3 separate regions of the Homo sapiens genome follow, and all the other regions are linked to region 3. Evidence: promoter capture Hi-C in 16 types of primary human blood cells and fetal thymus (Javierre and others, 2016). All regions are on one chromosome and are shown on one strand. The core of a region is centred on a gene start or on the middle of the fragment in contact, and the rest is flanking DNA. Distances in the headings are between cores, read along the strand shown.

Evidence for each region. Contacts are between HindIII fragments. The CHiCAGO score rates a contact against its expected background, and 5 or more counts as called.
Region 1: a contact is called between a fragment that was not itself captured here and the fragment with the promoter of KLHL2 in region 3, in 1 of 17 cell types (activated CD4 T cells). The highest score is 7.1, in activated CD4 T cells.
Region 2: the fragment with the promoter of HPF1 here is called in contact with the fragment with the promoter of KLHL2 in region 3 in 3 of 17 cell types (total B cells, non-activated CD4 T cells and activated CD4 T cells); the score reaches 9.2 in total B cells.

The regions. Positions count from the first base shown.
Region 1 is chr4:168,507,168-168,510,612 of GRCh38, reverse strand. The region is part of intron 1 of PALLD (palladin, cytoskeletal associated protein); the gene reads right to left. The region is part of intron 1 of LOC107986198 (a long non-coding RNA gene); the gene reads left to right. Among named protein-coding and RNA genes, the nearest start is that of PALLD, 12 kb to the right of the region's middle. The HindIII fragment of the contact is 1,765 bases long and covers 525-2,289 here.
Region 2 is chr4:169,756,279-169,759,827 of GRCh38, reverse strand. It overlaps HPF1 (histone PARylation factor 1), which reads left to right and starts at 1,884. Exons shown (of 8, transcript NM_017867.3): 1 at 1,884-1,998. The coding sequence starts at 1,951. It overlaps LOC107986240 (a long non-coding RNA gene), which reads right to left and starts at 1,765. Exons shown (of 3, transcript XR_001741529.2): 1 at 1,604-1,765. RefSeq lists an enhancer at 1,967-2,036. The HindIII fragment of the contact is 1,294 bases long and covers 804-2,097 here.
Region 3 is chr4:165,205,991-165,209,752 of GRCh38, reverse strand. It overlaps KLHL2 (kelch like family member 2), which reads right to left and starts at 2,192. Exons shown (of 15, transcript NM_007246.4): 1 at 1,851-2,192. The coding sequence starts at 1,876. RefSeq lists a silencer at 1,891-2,540 and an enhancer at 2,071-2,571. The HindIII fragment of the contact is 2,287 bases long and covers 874-3,160 here.

The sequences.
Region 1 (3,445 bases), core at 158-2,657, 3.3 Mb before region 3:
ACATTCTTAGTTTGCAGGGCATACAAAAAGGGTTGGGATGGATTTGGCTCAGGGGCTGAAATTTGCTGACCCTTCATCCAGACTTACAGCACAGTTATCATGTTCAAGGAGTTAAAAGTCATGGGAGGTAGTAAAGTGGAGGAGATAGAGAAGATATTAAACAAATAATATGTTAATAATATAAAATTTTGATAAGGCTTTTAAGGAAAGTGAGAAAAACCTGGGGGCTATGAGAGTCTAATCTAATCTTAAAGGGCATGAGATAACTAGAGGCCTGGCATAGAACACTTACATGGGAATATCAGCAGAATTAAATAAAAGGTATTTCATTATCTGTAAGCTATTACAGCTTTAAATTCCACTGACATTTTGAACTTTATATTGTGAAGCAATGACTCCTTGTTACTCTAAGTGTGCCATTCTTTTGCTATATATTGTTCATAGAGTACTGAGAGGGACGATCTAGAAAACATCAGCGGTGATGTCTGCCACAAGACTGAGTCTAGGAGTGAATAATGGAAGCTTCCTGGATGTGGTGAACCTCAACTTTCTACCTTGTGTCAGTCAGGAGTAAACTTGGTGGGACATTCCCCAGAAATGGTGTGTCTTCAGAGGACTGAATTGAGTTGCTTGCGTAGAAGTATCTTCCCATCTAAGAAAATCTCTAATTTCAAAATACATTATGCAAGAGTCGAGGGGGTTGTAGAAATCCAGCTCAAGAGCCTACTGCTTCACTGGATGCAGTGAGTCATAGACCTGCTGTTTAACAGAGGGTAGTTAATCAGAGATCCTGAAACTCAATGTTAACATACCCCATCTTCTTAAGTGGAATACTGTACTTTTGTCTTACATGTCTTCTTAGAAAGATAGTTACTTTTTTTGTGCCTGAATTATTAGATTCACCACATGCTAGCCCTACTCTATCTACTGAACCATATTTCGCACTCTTCTTCAAGTAAATCCTTAATCCTTCAGAGGGTGTCATCATTCTCCCTGACTTTACTAACCCAAATATCACTCTAATTCCTTTGTCCAGTCTGTGCTGCAGGATAGAAACATCCTGACTGGTCTCCAGTTATTCAGATATGGCTCGTATATGAGGAACAATTATATTCAGTGTATTTTTAATACTTGAATGTATTTTCTTCATGAGAAACAGGCAGTTAAAGTATGATTTTGAAAAGGCAAAGGTATAGTAATATATAAAAATCAAATAACATGTATTTGAGCTTTTATTTAACAATTGAAAAAATCAGTAATATATTACAATTATTTCAAAGGAGACGCTGAAGATGAGACACATGTAGGCAATCAGGCATGCTGATATGAAGTTGGTAATAGATTTGAAACTGGTTAATATCTATAGAGCAATAAAATACAATGTTTGGAATCATAAGAGTGGAAAACTATAGCATTTCTACTAGAAAAAAAATCATTTGTATATCTATGCACCAGTATAATTTGCATTGTTTTTAGATTTTTCCAACTTACAGAGTTGTAAAATTGTAAAGACAATAAAAGGCATAGACCCCTGTGGAATTAGATGACCCTGGAACGTCCACCAGAGCCAATCCAGCAATGGTACTGGGTGTCTATTGCAAGGACACCCAGTACCATTTTGTATATTGCAAAACGTTTTATAGTTTGTCCTACCAAGGCAGCCTGGTTTCTCTCAGTAATGAGCTCTGAAGTACAATTGGCCCCTCAGTCAGCACACATGGTAGATAACTTTAGGGGAAGCCAGGATCAGGATCAACTCTTACAAGGTGTGGGGAGATGAGCCATTAGGTAACATGGATCCAGAAGAGACATGAAGGTGGAGAGGGGGAGACTCGGGGGCTGAAAGTAGGTTTGTGTACCAAAGGCACAACAGACTATATTTTCATTTATTGCATTTCTTGTAAAATTTATTTTTCTTTGAAAGAAAGCTACTGTGTTTTTTATTTGTTATTTATTTATTTATTATGGCCTGAAAGAAATTCAGTTTTTGTGTTGAAATCAGTGCTAAAGGAGATTGAAAAACATTTTGTGTCAACCAAACCTGTGGTAGATTAAGCTGAAAATCCAAGGAAATAATTGCAACAAAACCTTTGATTCTTGACATGACGAAATTGTGAAGCCTAAGCTGGGATAGATGTACTACATGGACCAGAATTACCCACTCGAAGTGTATTTATGGACTATCTACCACATGCCTGGTAGTGCGCTAGGGACGGGGATATGACCTTGAAAAAGAGAAGGTTTTTGCCCTCATGGAACTTAATACAAATTACAACTAAATAATAAGCTTATATAATTGAGTATGTCTTTTTTTAAATTGTATTTTATTTTTTAAATTGACAAATAATAATTATACATAATTATGGGGTACCTAGTGATGTTTCAATACGTACAATTTATAGTGATCAGATCAGGGCAACTAGCATATTCATCTCTAACATTTATGATTTCTTTGTGTTGGGAACATTCAACATCTTCCTTCTAGCCATTTGAAACTATAGAGTATGTTATTGTTAGCTATAGTCATCCTGCAGTGGTATAGAAAAACAAAGTGCTGTGATAGCACCTAGAAGCAACAGCAAGGTCAGGATCAGGAAACCTTTGTGAAAGAGAGAAAGCTGAAAGAATGATGTGTGAGGGATGAGGAAGAGCGGGGAGGTGAAGAGGATACTGGCAAATATGTATTTTAAGACTTGGATCCCAGAGAGCACATGGCAGACTCAGGTAATTCTACTAAGCATTTCAGCTAAACAGAAATCTATCTGGAGATGGGAAAATAACCAGAGATAAGGCTAGAAAGCAGGAGTTAGGTCAGAGAGGGCCTGGAGCCATGCAGAGAACTTGCATTTTATGTTATGGGTAGTCAGTAGGCAAGGAAGAGTGTTAAGTCCTTGAGAAACATCACCAGACTTACATTTTTGAGAGATAACTGATTGCAGTCTGGATCCGGGACAGAGGTAGGGAAAGAGGAAGACAAGACTGACAGTAGGGCGGTCCGTGAGAAGGCTTGTGCAGTAATCCAGGGGGTGCACACATTTATCATGGTTTCACGTTTGGTGTTGCTGTCATCTGGACGTCTTCATTTTGGAGAATTCCTCATATTCTGAGGCTCAGTGAGAAACTGAACTCACTTGTAATGGGATGTGAAATCTCCAAGTATTTTCTTTCCCAGCCGCTTGGAGACTGGGCACAAGTCTTGGCACTTGGCCTAGACAGCGATTAGATGTGTCCTTCTTGGACTCTGAAGTGAGAGCTGGTGATTCAGGGAAGCAGTGGGTCCAGGGTCCATAAGATAGATGATAGAAAGGAAAGAACTTGGTAATTGATTAAAGGCAGAGGTGATGCAGAGGCAGGGTTACAGGTTTCTCACCTCAACAACCAGATGACTGGTACCATTAACTTACATGCTACAAGTGGAGGAACAAGTTTTTTTATTTTATTTTAT
Region 2 (3,549 bases), core at 635-3,134, 4.6 Mb before region 3:
AATTGACATCTTCAGAGATAAAAGGAGCTATATTCATGAAAAATAATGTAATGCTATAAAAGAACAGAGAATAAAAAGAGCACTGAGAAATAAAGGTATAATACAGAAATTAAGTAATTAATCTTTATTAAGTATAATAAAGAAATTAAGTAATTGTCCAATTAAGTTGAGAAAGTCACAGAGAAAGTAGAATAAAAATATGAAGACATAGAAAATAGGACAGACAGGTAAGAAAAAACATCAGCCAAGAAGGTCCACGATCTAAATAACAAATTTCAAAAAAGAAGAGATACGATGGGGGGTGGGGGGGAAGAAATGATCAAATAAATAATACCAGAAGAATTCCCATAACTGAAGAACATGTGTTTCAGGATTGAAAAACTGGTCGATAGGAATGAGAAAAGACCCATAACCAAGACACTCAATAGTGTTTTAGAACACTGGGAATAGGCCGGACGCGGTGGCTCACACCCGTCATCCCAGCACTTTGGGAGGCCGAGGAGGGCGGATCACGAGGTCAGGAGATCGAGACCATCCTGGCTAACACGGTGAAACCCCGTCTCTACTAAAAATACAAAAAAAAAAAAAATTAGCTGGGCGTGGTGGCGGGCGCCTGTAGTCCCAGCTACTCCGGAGGCTGAGGTAGGAGAACGGTGTGAACCCGGGAGGTGGAGCTTGCAGTGAGCTGAGGTGGCACCACTGCACTCCAGCCTGGGCAACAGAGCGAGACTCCGTCTCAAAAAAAACAAAACAAAACAAAACAAAACAAAAAACACTGGAAACAGAGAAAAGATCCTAAAGCTTCTTGAGACAAAACAAAACAGAAAGGAAAGCAGGTTACATATCAAGAAATTTAGTGACCTGTGAAGGAGAAGGAAATATAACGACATAGTTTCTTAACAATTCTGGAAGCTAAAATATTGCGGAGCAAGCCCTCCAATATTCCGAGTGAAAGTTATTTTCAACCTAGAACTGTGCTCAGCCAGAATAAAAACATTTCCAGACATGCACACTCTGTGGGAAAAAAGACCTGGCAGCAACCTCTCTCAAGGAACTATTGGCGGATATGTTCCACAACATGAGGGTATATAATCAAGAAAAAGGAACACCCAGATTGAGGAAATAGAGAACTCATCTCAGGAATGAGGAATAAGACCTTCCCAGGATGGATGTGAAGGAGGTCCAAGGACATCAGTTGAGAGTTGTGCCTTCCAAATTTTATGTGCATAGGAATTACCAGGGGATCTTGTTGCGATGCAGATATTGATTCAGTAAGTCTGGGTAAGGCCTGAGATTTGGCGTTTTAACAAATTCCCTCAGGATGCTGAGGCCGCTGGTTCAGGGACTACACTTTGCATATCAGCGGTGTAGAGGAAAAACAGTCCAAATTGTACCAAGAAGACGACGGTACAGAGACAGAGACCGACAGACATTTATTTCCTTCTTGGAGACAATCGGGAATGAATTAGTGTAAGCCAATAACCGTACAGTAGGGTAGGGAGAGGGATGGAGGAGAAGGAGAAAAGGATTAATATTTTAAGTAAATATAAATGAAGAAAAAACAAGGAAGGGGCTGTATTGAGAACAGCCGCATACATCCAACCTTGCCTCTAGTAGACACCTGAAGAGGAAGGTTGGACCACTCTAAGGATTCAGATTCAGTAGTCTGGGGGGTCTCTGGAGCGACCCTGGAAGATGCTCCAGAAAGCCTAGATGCAGACTACGCTGACAGAAGACGCTCCTTGCACGCGCCCAGCACGGGAGTGGGCGGGGCCTCAACGCGTCCGGTGCCAGGTCTCAGGGGGCGGGGAATGGGCGGAGCCTTTCCCCTAAATTGGCGAGCCCGGGCGGCGCTGAAATTCGGCTTGGAGGCTTTTGAACCCGGAAGCGGTTGGCGGCGCTCGGAAGCGGCCGCGGATCGGGGAATTCTGCTGGCGCTGCAGCTGCAGAATGGTCGGCGGTGGCGGGAAGCGCAGGCCCGGCGGAGAGGGGCCGCAGGTACTGCCGGAAAGGCTGTGCGGGCTACGCGGGGCGCTTTGGGTGACAGCCAGGGCACCAGGAGGCAGCGCTTTTCATTCATCCAGTGACTATTAAGCTTGCTGTGTGTCCAGGGGCTGCGGTTTGCTGCGGGGATCCTGCCCAGGGCCGCTGTTTCGCGCTCTGCAGGGGGTTGGACCAGGAAAGTAGCTCCTCTGCATCTTCTGCCCAGCTCCTCTTGGAGCATTTCCTGGGGAAACGGATTAAGCCAACCAATGGTTCATTCGCCCAGCCAGATTGATTGGGAACCGATTACATACCTGACATTCTGTGGGGCGCTGCGGATTTGGGGGTCAACCTGCTTGCTCCTGCTGCTTGTTGAGCCCTCGGCCTGGGGAGGAGGGGCACAAGCAAATATGCATTCTACTGTGACTTTTTTGTTTGGGATTATAACGCTGGTGTGTAGAAAGTGCTATGGAAACACTGAAGGAGGATTTAACAAGTCCCAGGGGGTGTTAAAGAAGACTTTTAAGACAACTCTTTGAAAATTGGTTTTGAAGGCAGAGAAGTAAGATTCTGAGACATAAAACTGTAGGAGATGTTTGGGCGTAGCGGAGCGTTCGGCTTGGCTGGAGCCAGGGAAATGGGAAAATAAGAGGGACCTGATCATAAAAGCACTACTGAGAGGGGAGGAGGAGAGAGTGTGTGCATTCTCATACTTTACTACGATTTCGGAAGTTCTGTAACCACTACAGTAGCAATAAGGGGAATCAGGAAAGAAGTGCCATTGTGATAACTAAAGTTTTAGAAAAGTTACTCTGGTAGTGTCATAAATCGGACAGGGTGAGACATTCTTAGAGGGCTTAACTAACTGTTAAAGGGCCATCGGTATAGGCATCCTTCATATTGGGTCATGCATTCTAGGAAGACCAGGGTAAAGAAGAAGTGTAGCCTCTGAAGGGGACAGCTGTTCTAAATCCTAGTTGTTAGGGCTATGGAGATGCTGAACTAGTGTGTGAGTAAAGGCACAGCTGAAAAAATTCTCTTTTTGAAGGTGCAGTGAAGAACTGCTTTGGTGGAGTGATGTGCTTAACTAGAAATACAATAACAGAAATGAAGATGAGTCTGTAGAGACTATAACCGTAATGGCCAGCATTTGTATATTATGTGCTAGGACCGTTCTGTGTATTTTTACATATAATAACATTCCTTGTAACAACCCCGATATAGGCACTGTATGCCCTTTTTGCAGATGAGAAAACAAAGCACAGAGAGGTTAAGTAACTTGCCTAAGGTTGGAAATCAGTAGAGTCAGGAGTCAACCCAGGCAACCTAACTATTATGCAAAACTGCCTTTCAGCAAGGCAGATTAAGCCTTTTCTAACATCTTAAGTTGGAGCCAGTCTTTGAACGTCTGAACAAAGACAGTTATGAAAACAGAAGATAGGATAGCTCAGGACTTCATATGTTCCTACTGTTCTATATTTGATGTTGGAGAAGCAGCATAGTGAAGTGGTTGAGGATCTGCTGTGGACCCAGATTTAAACCTGAGTTTAAATCCCTTCTCTTCCA
Region 3 (3,762 bases), core at 943-3,442:
CTTTAGCCACCCCTGATTGAAAGGAGTTTTAACAATTCTTTCATCCATGCTGGCATTCCAAGTTTTCCATTATATCTCAGCCTCTCATTGTTCCAGCACTATTGATGGAATCTCAATGCCAAAAATGGCGCTGGTCATCAAAATTATGATTAGCTGATCTACCCTAGAGTCAGTTTATCAATGTTTCAATGCATACATCAATTCTATTTTTTATTATTTCAATTTAAATCATCTGTGTCTCTATTCCCTCCCTCCCTCCAGAGGCTGCTTTCCCACACCCTTCTTTTCACCTGCATTCTAAGTATTCCCTTGTTCTTTCCTTTAGCTCCCTCTGTTCCAAAAGTAAAAACGAACTGCAGGAACTTATGTAGAAGGCAGGTTTACTACAGATAGCATACCTACATGTTACATATTATATACCATATGTTGGCTAAATACAGCTAGCATATCCTGCTTTAAGTGCTTCTGAGCCTGGGCAGACCCCCGTGTGCTCATGCTGCTGATGTGAACCATCCACCATCATATTTCCTAGGGGTTCAGGTGCCTTCCTCCAGCCTGCTGAAGAACATGACCAAATCTCAGAGCCCTCAAAGCCACAGCTATCGAGAGGTGACTAAGCCCCTGCTTCTGTCAGCCCAGGAAGGCCAATTCAAGAGTCTTATCTACCCCCTAGATTTCCACGACCTGTTCCACTCAAGCTAAAAATTCTGAAACGCACTTTTAGAAACTGTCGTTCCAGAATCCCATTAGCTCTCCTAAAAGGGCTGAACATCAAAAAATTATTCAACCCAAGCCAAGTATCCTTATTTTGGCTGGAATTCTGCCAAATAACCACAAGAGACTGGTGCGGTACAATCGGCATGGAGTGAAGCTTGCCAAATTTGACCGGAGAACGACAAGCCTCCATGAATAAGCTCTCATGAAAAGGTAAACCATTCTTCAGGATGAGGTTTGTCTGCGATTTGAAAAGTCAGATTCAAAGGACTCTTGTTCCTTCCTAAGAGAAGAGGGAACCAAAATTGAAATTTTCGAAACTCCTGGGTATTTACAGTTCACTTTTACCAAGATGTTTTTAAAACTAAAAACTAAAATTTAAAAAAAAAACCCTTGTTCTGAATAATGCAATAATGTCTTCTACATAATGTTTCAGCTATTATTTCTAGAAAGTAATTCTGTTGCCAGTGATCTTGAATGTACTTGGGTACCAAAGAAAAAAGACACCTGTGCCTGGCAGGTCGATACGCTACTAATTTGCCCGAGGTACGAACGAAACAGAAGATGCTGATTTCTGGATAAAACGTTCTGCAGTGCCAGGTAAAAGAGGTCACATGCCCTGAACGGCCGCCGCTCATTTAGAGTGATGCAAAAGCTCCTCAGATATTAATTTTGTTAGAAATTCGGGGAATCAAGCAACCTAAGATCAATTCATTTAGACAGCGGGTGACTGGTACTTTCCAGTTTCCTTTTTTCAACGGACTCAGTGCATCCTAGCCTGATCTCTTATAAAGGGGTAGGCAAACTCGGCACCAGGTGCCCATGCATTTCAGGGAGGTACACACAGGACCTGCAGGGTCACCCATGCACAGCCCCACCCCGAATCTTCTATCCGCCCGAGATGGGGAAGACCCTTCCCCAGAAATCCTGGGCAGCGTTTTAAGTCACCGCCTGGCCAGGCTGAGTTTCCGTCCGCGTCCGCTCAGGACTGCGGGCACAGCGCCTCGTCACGCCCCGCATCTCCCACCTCCCGCCGGCCCCGGCGGCTGTCCCCAGAGCTGCGCCCGCGGCCGGCGACACGCGCCGCAGCGGCGCGCTTATCCGCAGCGGCGCAGCCCGCCCGCCCGCTCACTCACGCGGGAGGCAGCGGCGGCGTCTCCATTGTGGCTCCTCTCGGGCTTCAGAACGCAGGCACCGACCAACACAGCCAGCACCATTCCAGCCGCGGACGCCGGCACTGCCCGCCCGCCGAGCCGCGTTCCATCCGCCCCGGAGGGGGCGCCGCGCTCTCCTCACCGCGCGCCACCACCTGCGGCGGCGGCCCCCGCGGCCATGGCCCGCTCGGCCGGGCGCGCTCCGTCTACTGCGCGGCTCCCGCGCTCGCCCGAGTGCGGGGCGGCGGCGACGGGACCGGCGGGCGCGCGGGCTCGGCCACTTCCGGGTTCGGCCCCGGCCGGCGCCGACGCTGTGACGGGACTGCGATGCGGCCTCCCGCGGCGGCCGAGTACCCCTCCCTCGGCGCCTCCCCTTCCTCCTGCTGCTGCTGCTGCCGCTGCCGCTGCCGCTTCTGCTTCTGGAGGCGGGCGGGCGGGCGCCAGCCGGGTGCGGGGCGGGCGTGCCCAGACGCTGGCCCGCAGGCCGGGACGCGGGCGGCGGCCGCCCACAGCGGGTCTCTGGATCGCCGGGACGGGGGCGCTGGAAAATGGGAGCGGAGGGGGTTCTCCGTGCAGAAAAAGGGCGGCCGAACGCACGGCGTAATAATGCTCGGTATCCACTTGCTGCTCTGCTTCGCGGGCGTGTACACGTTATTCTTTTCATTTGTGCCTGTACCCAGGGAGATGGGAAGGGTAGGCATAACCAACCAGTGTCCTTACAAAGGGTGGCACTGAGGCAAGAAGAAGTGATTTGCCTGTCCAGTGTCCCAGGCAGGAAGCAGGCTCTCCCTCCTCAGTATGCTAGCCATTCCTTGGACAAGTGAAGTGAGCACCTGCTAAGCAAGGTTTTAGTGCTGCGGCTGTGACAGCAAAACCAAGTCTTTCTGCTTGTGGAGCTGTCCATCTAGACGGGGTGACGGAAACAGTAAGTGATGCTTACCATGAAGAAACATAAATGAGGATGAGGAGAGGGAAAGAGATTTTAGAAAGAGTGGTCAGAGAAGGCCTCTCAAAAGGCATGAGTTAAAGAGATGGAATAACAGGGGCTTTGAGTAATGCAAAGAATGCCTAGGGCAGAGGGAAGAGCAGCGTGGAGACTGCTAAGCAAGATCCTGCCTGCCTTGTTGAGGAACGGGAAGGAGAACAGTGCAGCTGGTGGTTCTCCAAGTATGCCCGCTGGAAGCAGTAGCACCTGCGAACTTGTTAGAGATGCGAATTTTCCAGTCCCACTTTAGCCCTACTGAACCAGAAACTCTGGGGGTGGGGCCCAGCAGCGTGTGCTTTAACAAGCTTTCCAGATGATGCTTGCTGGGGCCGCGAGGGTGGGAGACCCTCTAATGAAGCAGAGTGAGGTCAGGAGGACGGCGGCAGGAATGGGTGTGGCGAGGAGTAATCACAGATCACCCAGGCCTTGCAGGCCGTGATAAAGGACTTGGCTTTTACTGAGATTAGAAGCAATTAGAAAGTGGTGAGTAGCTTGATCTGATCATTAAAAGGATGACTTTTCTGGGATTTGTTTGAAAATATCCCACAAAAAGAAGGACAGAGGTCGGGCGCCGTGGCTCACGCCTGTAATCCCAGCACTTTGGGAGGCCGAGGCGGGCCGATCACCTGAGGTCGGGAGTTCGAGATCCGCCTGACCAACATGGAGAAACCCCGTCTCTACTAAAAATACAAAAAATTAGCCGGGCATGGTGGTGCATGCCTGTAATTCCAGCTACTCGGGAGGCTGAGGCAGGAGAATCGCTTGAACTAGGGAGGCAGAGGTTGCGATGAGCCGAGATCGTGCCATTGCACTCCAGCCCGGTCAACAAGAGCGAAACAAACTCCGTCTCAAAAAAAAAAAAAAAAAGGACAGAGAAGTGAATAGATGAATATTTGCAAAATGTTAATT